Regions from separate parts of the Homo sapiens genome. Here region 2 is linked to region 1. Evidence: promoter capture Hi-C in 16 types of primary human blood cells and fetal thymus (Javierre and others, 2016). All regions are on one chromosome and are shown on one strand. The core of a region is centred on a gene start or on the middle of the fragment in contact, and the rest is flanking DNA. Distances in the headings are between cores, read along the strand shown. Region 1 holds the start of TRAIP (TRAF interacting protein). Region 2 overlaps DAG1 (dystroglycan 1).

Region 1 (5,488 bases), core at 2,085-4,584:
ACTGTGCTCCTTTCAGAAGGCTGTCCGAGTGACCACCCTCATGAAACGGCTCCGGGCACCAGAGCAGTCCAGCACGGCTGCAGCCCAGTCGGCCTCAGCCACAGACACTGCCACCCCCGGGGCTGCAGGTGGGGCCACAGCTGCAGCTGCGAGTGGAGCTACCTCAGCCCCTGAGGGTGATGCTGCTCGTGCTGCAAAGAGTGATAATGTGGCCCCCGCAGACCGTAGTGCCACCCCAGCCACAGATGGAAGTGCCACCCCAGCCACTGATGGCAGTGTCACCCCAGCCACCGATGGAAGCATCACTCCAGCCACTGATGGGAGTGTCACCCCAGCCACTGACAGGAGCGCTACTCCAGCCACTGATGGGAGAGCCACACCAGCCACAGAAGAGAGCACTGTGCCCACCACCCAAAGCAGTGCCATGCTGGCCACCAAGGCAGCTGCCACCCCTGAGCCGGCTATGGCCCAGCCGGACAGCACAGCCCCAGAGGGCGCCACAGGCCAGGCTCCACCCTCTAGTAAAGGGGAAGAGGCTGCTGGTTATGCCCAGGAGTCTCAAAGGGAGGAGGCCAGCTGAGTAGGCAGCCTGGTGAGGGGGGGCAGGGGATGGGCAGGAGGGTGGGAGAGTGGATGAGGGGCTTCTCACTGTACATAGAGTCACTGGCATGATGCCCTCGCTCCCCCATGCCCCCACATCCCAGTGGGGCATAACTAGGGGTCACGGGAGAGCAGTCTCGTCTCCTGTGTGTATGTGTGTGAGTGGTGGGCAGGCCAGTGGCAGGGCCGGCCCCAGCCCCTGCATGGATTCCTTGTGGCTTTTCTGTCTTTTGCTAGCTTCACCAGTTTCTGTTCCTTGTGGGATGCTGCTCTAGGGATACTCAGGGGGCTCCTGCTCTCCTTCCCCTTCCCTTCTTGCCTCACCATTCCCCTAGGCAGGCCCTGCAGGTCCCACACTCTCCCAGGCCCTAAACTTGGGCGGCCTTGCCCTGAGAGCTGGTCCTCCAGCGAGGCCCTGTCAGCGGTCTTAGGCTCCTGCACATGAAGGTGTGTGCCTGTGGTGTGTGGGCTGCTCTAGGAGCAGATACAGGCTGGTATAGAGGATGCAGAAAGGTAGGGCAGTATGTTTAAGTCCAGACTTGGCACATGGCTAGGGATACTGCTCACTAGCTGTGGAGGTCCTCAGGAGTGGAGAGAATGAGTAGGAGGGCAGAAGCTTCCATTTTTGTCCTTCCTAAGACCCTGTTATTTGTGTTATTTCCTGCCTTTCCGAGTCCTGCAGTGGGCTGCCCTGTACCCTGAACCTCATGAGCCTCTAAGGGAAAGGAGGAACAATTAGGACGTGGCAATGAGACCTGGCAGGGCAGAGTACAAGCCCAGCACCCAGTGTCCCAGCCTTACTGGGTCCTTACCCTGGGCCAAACAGGGAGGGCTGATACCTCCTTGCTCTTCCTAGATGCCCACCTCCTACAATCTCAGCCCACAAGTCCTCTCCACCCTAGGGGGCTTGCTGCATGGCAATAACTCATAATCTGATTTGGAGGTTTGCCCTTTACAGGGGCAGATTTTCTGCTCAGTTCAACAATGAAATGAAGAGGAACTCCCTCTTTCTACAGCTCACTTCTATCAGAGGCCCAGGTGCCTCAGAGCCACATTGAGTTGCTTTTTCTGGGATGAGGAAGTAGGGTTAAACTCCCCAGTTTCCTGAGGGAGGCTCCTGACAGGTGCCCTTTGTCAGACCCTACCACAGCCTGGATAGGCAGCCACATTGGTCCTCGCCCTTGCTCGGCACTCCGTGGTGGTCCTGCCCTTCTCCCTGCATGCCTGTGGGTCTGCTCTGGTGTGTGAAGGTCGGTGGGTTAACTGTGTGCCTACTGAACCTGGCAAATAAACATCACCCTGCAAAGCCTCTGGCCACCCTCTCGCCTTTGCTTCCTCTGTCCTACTGGGGAGGAGCCCCTGGAAGGCAGTGGGGAAGGGAGAGGCTGGGAGCAGGTTCACAAGTAGTGGCTGGGAGTAGTAGTGAACAGTGCCCTGTGGATTTCTTGGGCTGAGGGTGAAGATCATCCTCACCACAGTGTATTCCTCAATGGTGGTGGTGGTGGGGGTCCTCTGAACTCTAGAAATCCATGTGAGTAGTGGGTCTTGGGCTGCATTTGGACCAAGGAATACTCCCTGGGCTGAGAGCTCAAGTAAGGGCTGCTGTTTTTGACTCCTGTTGACCGAGGAGCCTTACTCTTGATTTAGGCATAGAGCTGGAATCTACCTGGGCCAGCCACCGCAAGGACAGACCCTGCTCATAGCCAAAGATAGCTTCCCTGAGCTAGGGAGAGGGTGTAGGGTGAGCAATGCACAAAGATTCTATGCTGCTCTGTGTTGATTCCTTCTTTCTGTGAACACCTGTGCTTTCCACCTATGCCCCAAATGAAATCTCACTCTGGGTCTATTTCAGCTGGAGCAGATCAGCTTTATATTATGGGACTATGCACAGGGTTTCTTCTGGGTAGAGGGAGTAACACTGCCACAGATACTAAGCCTAAAAACCCAAAAGTTGACTTACTCCAGCCCAGGTGGGCCTGGGTGAACTCACCAGGGATGCTGCTCTCTGGGAGGACCTCAAAGATAACCTCCTCAAAGATAACTTCTCTGATGTGGGAATAATAAAAAGGATTTGTTAGTCTCTAGTCTTTGAAGCATCTGGGCCTCCAAAATTCCAACCCTACTACAGTCTCAAGCATAACTGATCCTCCTGAGAGCTAAGAGCTAAAGTCAGGGTACTGGCCCTAGTGTCTCCAAACTCAAGGATAGTCATATCTTACTTGGATGAAGCCAAGGTTGGCCTGGGGTGACCTGAGGGACTGGGGCCTATGTGTCCATCTTTCTAGAATCGCCCGGAACTGAGGACTGAGAGGGTAGGGTATTGTGGTCTATGGGAACTACAGACCATAGCGCATGGTCCATCACTGTCCAGAGCCCAAGGGACCCATCGGGACCATTGTTCTATTCCCTTGCGGCTGCGGTTTTCTCTGCCTTGGCCCAGCCTGCCTCGCGCCAGCTCTGGCATGGGACCACAATGCGCTGCCTTGCCCTGGAAAAGGGTCCAGCTGGCAGCCTCGCTGCTCCCCGCCTTGATATAATGCTGCGCTCTCAAGTGGCAGGTCGAGTCTCCCCAGAGGACGCCTGAGAGCGACCGCGCTCCGCCCAGGATTCTCTACGGCCTCGGGGCCGCTAAGCCCCGCCCATAGTTCCGCCCATCCGAGAATTTGTCCAATCCAGGCGAAGTATTCACGCTCCGCCCAAAGTTTTGTGTTGTCACTTCCGGCCCGCTCCAGGAAGTCGTGCTGCGGAGCCAAATTTGAAGCAAGCGGAGGCGCGGGGGCGCGTCTACGAAGCCGGACCTGTAGCAGTTTCTTTGGCTGCCTGGGCCCCTTGAGTCCAGCCATCATGCCTATCCGTGCTCTGTGCACTATCTGCTCCGACTTCTTCGATCACTCCCGCGACGTGGCCGCCATCCACTGCGGCCACACCTTCCACTTGCAGTGGTGAGTGACTGCAGTGTTGGGGCCCGGTGTTTGCCCGGGTACCGCTTCAGGGCCTTGAGGTGTTGGGCCTCCAGGCGGTCCAACCCCGGAATCCAGACAAGTGATGAGAACCTTCCTCCTAGACGAGGCCCCACGGGAGCTTCCCAACCTGGGCAGAAGTGGGTCAGGACAGGCTTTCTGGTAGAGGTGATAGCTGAGCTAAGCCTGAGGGGGACTAAGATGGCTCAGTGAAGATAGATGCTTCCTTGATCACCTATACAAACAGATGTGATTTCAAAACCGTTAGCCTGGGCAAGGGTGAGCTTTCACCACATCAACAAGTCCTTTTATTTCTTCCAGATAGAAACCTGCTAGGCTTCTGGCTACCCAAGAGAGTTTGCTGTGCCTTACTTGATGGTTTGGAATTATTCTACCCAGAGTCATCTCACTGTCCAGACACCCCAATGTATTCGCCATGTCAGCAAACCCGTTTAACATGGGGAAGGCAAGGAGATGCTCCCCTATCCAGGGGTCCTGCTGACCGTGTAGGGCCATTCTGTTGAGTGTACAGCTAGTGGGGAAAGATTCCCCTAGCAGATGTGGACAGGCCGGTTTGGACCTCCTAGCAAAAGAGATAAGGCAGCGTTACCCCTGGGAATGGTGGGTGATAATAATCACAGGGTCTTGTGGGGCTAAAGGCCCTAGGAAGCAGAAAGGCAGGCATGACACTGATGGCTGCTGGCTTACTTGCAAAGCTTTGTTTAGGCCTGTGTTGCTGACAGCCTGAGCCCCATGCTGAGGGAGCCACTGCTGTTTGGTTAGACTAGAAATTAAGCTCGCCTCTAAGCGTACTCTATTTTCTGTTTGCCTACTCTATTTTCTTCTATCCTTTTACTTTATTTATTTATTTTTATTTTATTTTATTTTTGAGATGGAGTCTCGCTCCTGTCGTGTAGGCTGGAGTGCAGTGGCGTGATCTCGGCTCACTGCAACCTCCACCTCCTGAGTTCAAGTGATTCTCCTTCCTCAGCCTCCCAAGTAGCTGACATTACAGGCGTGCGCCACCACGCCCAGCTAATTTTTGTGTTTTTCATAGACAGGGTTTCTCCATGTTGGCCAGGCTGGTCTCGAACTCCTGACTTCAGGTGATCCACCCACCTTGGCCTCTCAAAGTGCTAGGGCCTATCCTTTTACTTTAAACTTTTCTGTGTCCTTGTGTTTTACATGTATCCCTTGAAACAGCATTTATTTCTTTTTTTGTATATTAAAAAGTACTTTAGCTTACTGCAAAGATCTTTATTTTATTTTATTTTGAGACAGGGTCTCACTCTGTTACACAGGCTGCAGTGCAGTGGTGCCATCTCGGCTCACTGCAGCCTCTACCTCCTGGGCTAAGGTGATTCTCCCATCTTAGCCTCCCAAGTAGCTGGGACTACAGGCGCCTGCCACCATGCTTGACTATTTTTTTTTTTTTGTATTTTTAGTAGAGATGGGGTCTTGCTATGTTGCCCAGGCTGGTCTTGAACCCCTGGACTCAAGTAATCCACCCACCTCTGCCTCCCAAAGTGCTAGGATTACAGGTGTGAACCACCGCACCCAGCCTTGGAAAACAACATTTAGTTGGACTTTTAAAAATCCAGTCTGATAATCTTTGTATTTAACTGGACCATTTAGTCTACTTAAAATTGTTGCAATTACTGATTAAATAAAGAGTAAACATATTGTCTTTAGTCGATTCTGTTTTGCCTTGCCTATTATATCTTATTGTCTCCTTTCTTGCCTTGGTAGGAATTGGTTAAATATTCTGTATTTCTCCATTTTTCCCTCAGTTAGTTGGGTCGTTATATACCCCATTTCCATTTATAAGTGGTTATCCTAGAAATTAAGGTATGTATCCTTAACTTACCAATTTCAAGGTTAATCAACACCTTTCTCATTTTCCCAGGCAACTCAAAGAGCTTAGAATA
Region 2 (5,488 bases), core at 1,488-3,987, 350 kb after region 1:
GTATGGATATTCAGGATTAAATCTGAAGCTGAGCAAGAAATGTACCTTCCAGAGCCACCACTCTGTATCTAATGGTCAGATTAGCATCTAGCTTGCTGGGATATTACAAAGATGACAAGGAAACTTTATGCAAACACTCTGCAAACTAGGAAGAGCTCTGTGAACTGCTACATGTGAGCTGCTACATGGGCCAAGATCTTCAGAAATACGGTTGCCCCAGAGACCACAAGGTCACTCTGAGAACAAGCCACGGCTTAAAAAGAAGGTGACCAACAGGGAAAAGGAGGCGAACACAAGAAGGGAGCAGGCTGAAGGGGAGGTCCACCCAGATTCAGGGAAAAGGGCACAGACTCACCTCTGCAAGGAAAGAGTGGCATAGAACTTGTGGCCATTTCTAATCTAGAAGCCTGGGGCTTACGGGTCACGGGGGCAAGCTGGTAAACACCCATCAGAGTCTATATGTGCTTTGACCAATGGAGTAAAATGGAAGTGTTGTTGGGCAAGTTCTGGGCCTTAAGAGATTGGGCAGCTTCCTTTCCTATTTCTTGAAATACCTAATCTTAAAATCCATCTATCGTGCTTTGAGGACACCTAAGCAGCCCATGGAGAGGTCTACATGAAGAGGAATCAAGGACACTGACCAACAGCCCCAGCTAAGCTCCCTGTCAACAGGCAGCATCAACTTGCCAGCCATGAATGAGCCAACTTAGAAGTGAATTCCCCAGCCCCAGGTGAGCCACTCTACCTAGTACCATGTGAAACAGAGATAAGGTTCCTTATCTCTGAATTCCTGGCCAAAAAATGTTGAGTAAAACAAGCTGGTTGAGTTAAACCACTGTTTTGGTGGTTTAAACACACCAACAGAAAGCCAGAGCACTAAATGTATGTAGAAGTCTGAATGCAGAGATCATACAGAAAATACCTAACAAAGTATAGGTCTCAGAATACTTTTAGTTCACATGTAGGCCACACCTCTAGAGAAGGAATGCTGTAGGGCAGGAACCAGAAGTTTGAGACCAGCCTGGCAGACAGAGTAAGACCCTATCTAAAAAAAATTTTTTGTAACTAATTTTTGTATTTTTTGTAGAGTTGGGGTTTCACCATGTTGCCCAGGCTGGTCTCAAACTCCTGGGCTCAAGCAATCTGCCTCCCTCAGCCTCCCAAAGTGCTAGGATTACAGGTGTAAGTCATCACGCCCAAACTAAAAAAAAATTTTTTTTTAATTAGCTGGGTGTTGCGAGGCTGAGGCAGACAGATCACCCGAGATAAGGAGTTTGAGACCAGCCTGGCCAACATGGTGAAACCCCGTCAGTACTAAAAATACAAAAATTAGCCGGGCATGGTGGTGCGCACCTGTAATCCCAGCTACTTGGGAGGCTGAGGCAGGAGAATCACTTGAATCTGGGAGATGGAGGTTGCAGTGAGCTGAGATTGTGTCATTGCATTCCAGCTTGGGTGACAGAGAGAGACTTCATCTCAAAATTAATTAATTAATTAAAATAAATTAAAATTTAAAAATTAGCTGGGCGTGGTGACGTGCGCCTGTAATCCTAGCTACTGAGGAGGCTGAGGCAGGAGAATCACTTGAACCCAGGAGGCGGAGGTTGCAGTGAGCCAAGATTGTGCCATTGCACTCCAGCCTGGGCGACAAGAGCGAAACTCTGTCTCAAAAATAAATAAATAAATAAATTAGCTGGGTGTGGTGGTGCACACCTGTAGTCCCAGCTACTTGGGAGGCTGAAGAGGGAAGAAGGCTTAAGCCTGGGAGGTTAAGGCTGCAGAGAGCCATGGCTGTACCACTGCACTCCAGCCTGAACAACAGAGCAAGACCCTGCCTCAAAAAAAAAAATTGTAAAAGAATATTTCTTTCTTGACATATGAAATTCAAAAATCTGTTTCAAGTCAGAATGGGACTATAAGTGTAAAAAATTAAAAAAGAAAAAGTATCCACCGTAAAGTTTTATTGCCCATTGATTTATATATTGTAAAGGCTACTTTAACACTACACAGGCAGAGTCGAGGAGTTCTGACAGAAACCATATGGCCTGCAAAGCCTAAAATATTTACTGCCTGGAGCTTGGTGCAGTGGTGCATGCCTGCAATCCCAGCACTTTGGGAGGCCAAGGCAGGAAGATGGCTTGAGCTCAGGAGTTCAAGACTAGCTTGAGCAACATGACAAAACCCTATCTCTACAAAAAGTACAAAAATTAGCCAGGTGTGCTGATATGTGCTTATAGTCCCAGCTACTTGGGAGGCTGAGGTGGGAGGATCACTTGAGCCTGGGAGGTCAAGGCTACAGTGAGACATGATCATGCCAGTGCACTCCAGCTTGGGTGAAGTGTGCTGACTTCTGCTCTAGAAGATGTTCATAACTTGAGGGGTACATCCCACCCACCTGTCCATGAAACAAACTCATTTAAGATCTAGGGGAAATTCCATGGTTCCACAAACTCAGACAGAGAGATGGTGCTTCATCACACAAAAGCTTCCTATTTCACCTGATTTCTATCCTGGGTCAACCAAGACACTCTTCTCTACACGGGCCTCAGATTCCATTGTTCTCTGGATGGCTTCTCCAAAGGATATGGGGCAAGGCTGAAGTTTGGGTACTAATTTTGGTTCTTAAGTGATCAATTACATTAGCCAACATACATCAGCAAATCAGAGCAGAACTCCTATATTTATTTATATCTTATTTTAAAAAGTAAGTTCAAAGCATAAAAGTCCTATTTTTTGGGGTTTAACTCTGTGTTTTATTAAAGGTAACCTTTCCCTATACACGTGACAGACCTTTCCAACAAATCCCTAAATCAGTGTTCAGTAGAACTTCCAGAGTAAAGGCTATTACATGGTGATGCCCTCAGAATAGGAACAAGAATACAGTTTAGGATGCTATTCTGAGTATATAGGGATTCTCTTATGAACATCAGTGGCTGTCCCTCTTCTAAGGGGGTACTGGAAGAACTGAGCTCAGAATTGGTGAAGCTTAGACTTGAAAAGGAAAAGCCACCAAAACTAAAATGGAAAATGAGAACTCTTCCTCATTTATGCTTTATATCCAGTCTCACCTTGATGATATCTCCACTGGAGGCAATCAAATCTGTTGGAATGGTCACTCGAAATGAGCGCCCGACGACAGCCGTGCCATCAGGAATGCCAACCACTGTGGGAACAGCCTCGTGGAGGTCTGAGAGCACTGAGTGCATGGATGCCTCAAGCTGGTTTTCCCAGTCCCTGACAGCCTCTGAGGGTTCACTGGGCCAGTGGGACTGAGCCATAACCACAGAGAGCAGGAGGAGAAAGGTCCTCCCCGAGAGGGGCAGCAGCAGCGAGAGGCCCACAGACATCCTCATCCCAGGTCCAAGTTTGCTCAAGTCGATAGTCTTGCTAAGTAAGGAAGCAAGTGACTTGGTCCCAGAGCTGGGTTCTCACCCTCTGCACACCTGCTCCATCCCGGAGCACACAGAGCCTGAAAAAAAAAGAAAAGCAGGTTTAGACTTGAGCAATTCCAGTGGTTCAGTCACATACTATCCTCCAGGAGTTACTGTCAAAAACATCTACCCCGAGTTGGATCAAGCCTCTTACCCCCATGGTCTCTTATACAGAAACCAACAGTTTCGTGCAACTCCTTAGCACTGGAAATGTAGCTGATCCATTAAATATAAAATATACACTGGATTTTGAAAACTTCATAAAAAATGAATGTAAAATGCCTCATTAATACTTTTAAAATATTGATTGCAAACTGAAATGATATGTATTAGTAATATTTTGAATACAGTCAGATACATTCAATAAAATATATTAAGTAAACAATAAGTATTAACAAAGAATAAATAATAAAGAAATGTATTAAACAAGACGGGCACCGTGGCTCACGCCTATGATCCTGGCATCTTGGGAGACTAGGGTGGGTGGATGACTTGAGGTAAGGAGTTTGAAACCAGCCTGGCCAACATGGTAAAATCCCATCTCTACTAAAAATATGAAAATTAGCCGGGCATGGTGGTGGGTGCCTGTAATCCCAGCTACTGAGGAAGCTGAGGCAAGAGAATCACTTGAACCCGGGAGGTGGAGGTTGCAGTGAGCCGAGATTGCACCACTGCACTCCAGCCTGGGTGACAGAGTGAGACTCGACCTCAAAAAAAAACAATAAAATATTAAGTAAAATATATGATTGAAATTAATTTAATCTGCTTTTCTTCATGTGGCTACCAGGAAAATTTAAGTGACATATGTGGCTCATGTTATATTTCTGTTGGGTGGCACTGCTTTAGACCTAACTTCCAATTTACAGGAAATATGGGAGCTATGCAAAGAAAATCACACAAATCTAGAATGTGGGATCTTCTGCCAAACAACTGGCCTGGTCTCTCCAAATGCTGACATCCCTAAACATAAGATGACTGTTCTCGATTTAGAGACAGCAACCAGACTTGATGTGTGTATCTTTCTAGGGGTAGGGGAGTGGGGACAGAGAAGGTTCTTGCTCTGTGGCCCAGGATAGAGTACAGTGTCATGTTCATAGCTCAATGTAACCTTGAACTCCTGGGCTCAAGTAAATAGCTGGGACTTCAGGTGCACACCACTCCACTCAGCTAGTTTTTAAAAATCTTTTGTACAGACAGTGTCCCACTATGCTGCCCAGGCTGGCCTCAAACTCTTGGCCTCAAGTGATCCTCTCACCTCAGTCTCCCAGGATTAGAAAGGTAAGCAATCTTGCCCAGACAATGTGTATCTCTTGACTGGATTCTGGATTTACTTTTTAAAAAAACCCATGAGTCCAGCTCCCAAAGGGGTAATTGAGGAATTTTGCGTGTAAACTGGAAATGGGATTTACTGTTATTTTTCTTAGGTGATATGATGGTAGTAAGACTCTATAGGGAATCATCCTCAATCTTATGAATTGTATTTTGAAGTACTTAGGGATGAAGTGTCAAACACTCTGCAACTCACTTCAAAATGATTCAAAGAAAAAAAATGTATACATGTATATATAGAGATACATTCATGTGGCAACTGTAACAATGAGGCTTAGAAAAATGCTTTGAGGCCTGGCGGGCGGGTGCAGTGGCTCATGCCTGTAATCCCAGCACTTTGGGAGGCTGAGACAGGAGGTTCACTTGAAGTCAGGAGTTCAAGACCAGCCTGGCCAGCATGGTGAAATCTTGTCTCTACTAAAAATACATGCCAGGCATGGTGGCTCACGCCTGTAACCCTAGCACTTTGGGAGGCCAAGGCAGGCAGATCACCTGACGTCAGGAGTTCAAGACCAGCCTGGCCAACATGGTGAAACCCCGTCTCTACTACAAATACAAAAAATTAGCCAGGCGTGGTGGTGCACGCCTGAAGTCGCAGCTACTTAGGAGGCTGAGGCAGGAGAATCCCTTGAACCTGGTAGGCAGAGGTTGCAGTGAGCGGAGACTGCACCACTGCACTCTAGCCTGGGTGACAGAGCAAGACCCTGTCTCAAAAACAACACATACAT

Evidence for each region. The method cuts DNA at HindIII sites, captures the fragments that hold promoters and counts their contacts. A CHiCAGO score of 5 or more calls a contact.
Region 2: a contact is called between a fragment that was not itself captured here and the fragment with the promoter of TRAIP in region 1, in 1 of 17 cell types (erythroblasts). The highest score is 5.4, in erythroblasts.

Annotation. Positions count from the first base shown.
Region 1 is chr3:49,854,410-49,859,897 of GRCh38, reverse strand. It overlaps TRAIP (TRAF interacting protein), which reads left to right and starts at 3,334. Exons shown (of 15, transcript NM_005879.3): 1 at 3,334-3,542. The coding sequence starts at 3,445. CAMKV (CaM kinase like vesicle associated) reads left to right here. Exons shown (of 11, transcript NM_024046.5): 11 at 17-1,909. The coding sequence ends at 580. The HindIII fragment of the contact is 3,060 bases long and covers 1,219-4,278 here.
Region 2 is chr3:49,508,400-49,513,887 of GRCh38, reverse strand. It overlaps DAG1 (dystroglycan 1), which reads right to left. Exons shown (of 3, transcript NM_004393.6): 2 at 3,069-3,469. The coding sequence starts at 3,353. Among named protein-coding and RNA genes, the nearest start is that of DAG1, 41 kb to the right of the region's middle. The HindIII fragment of the contact is 500 bases long and covers 2,488-2,987 here.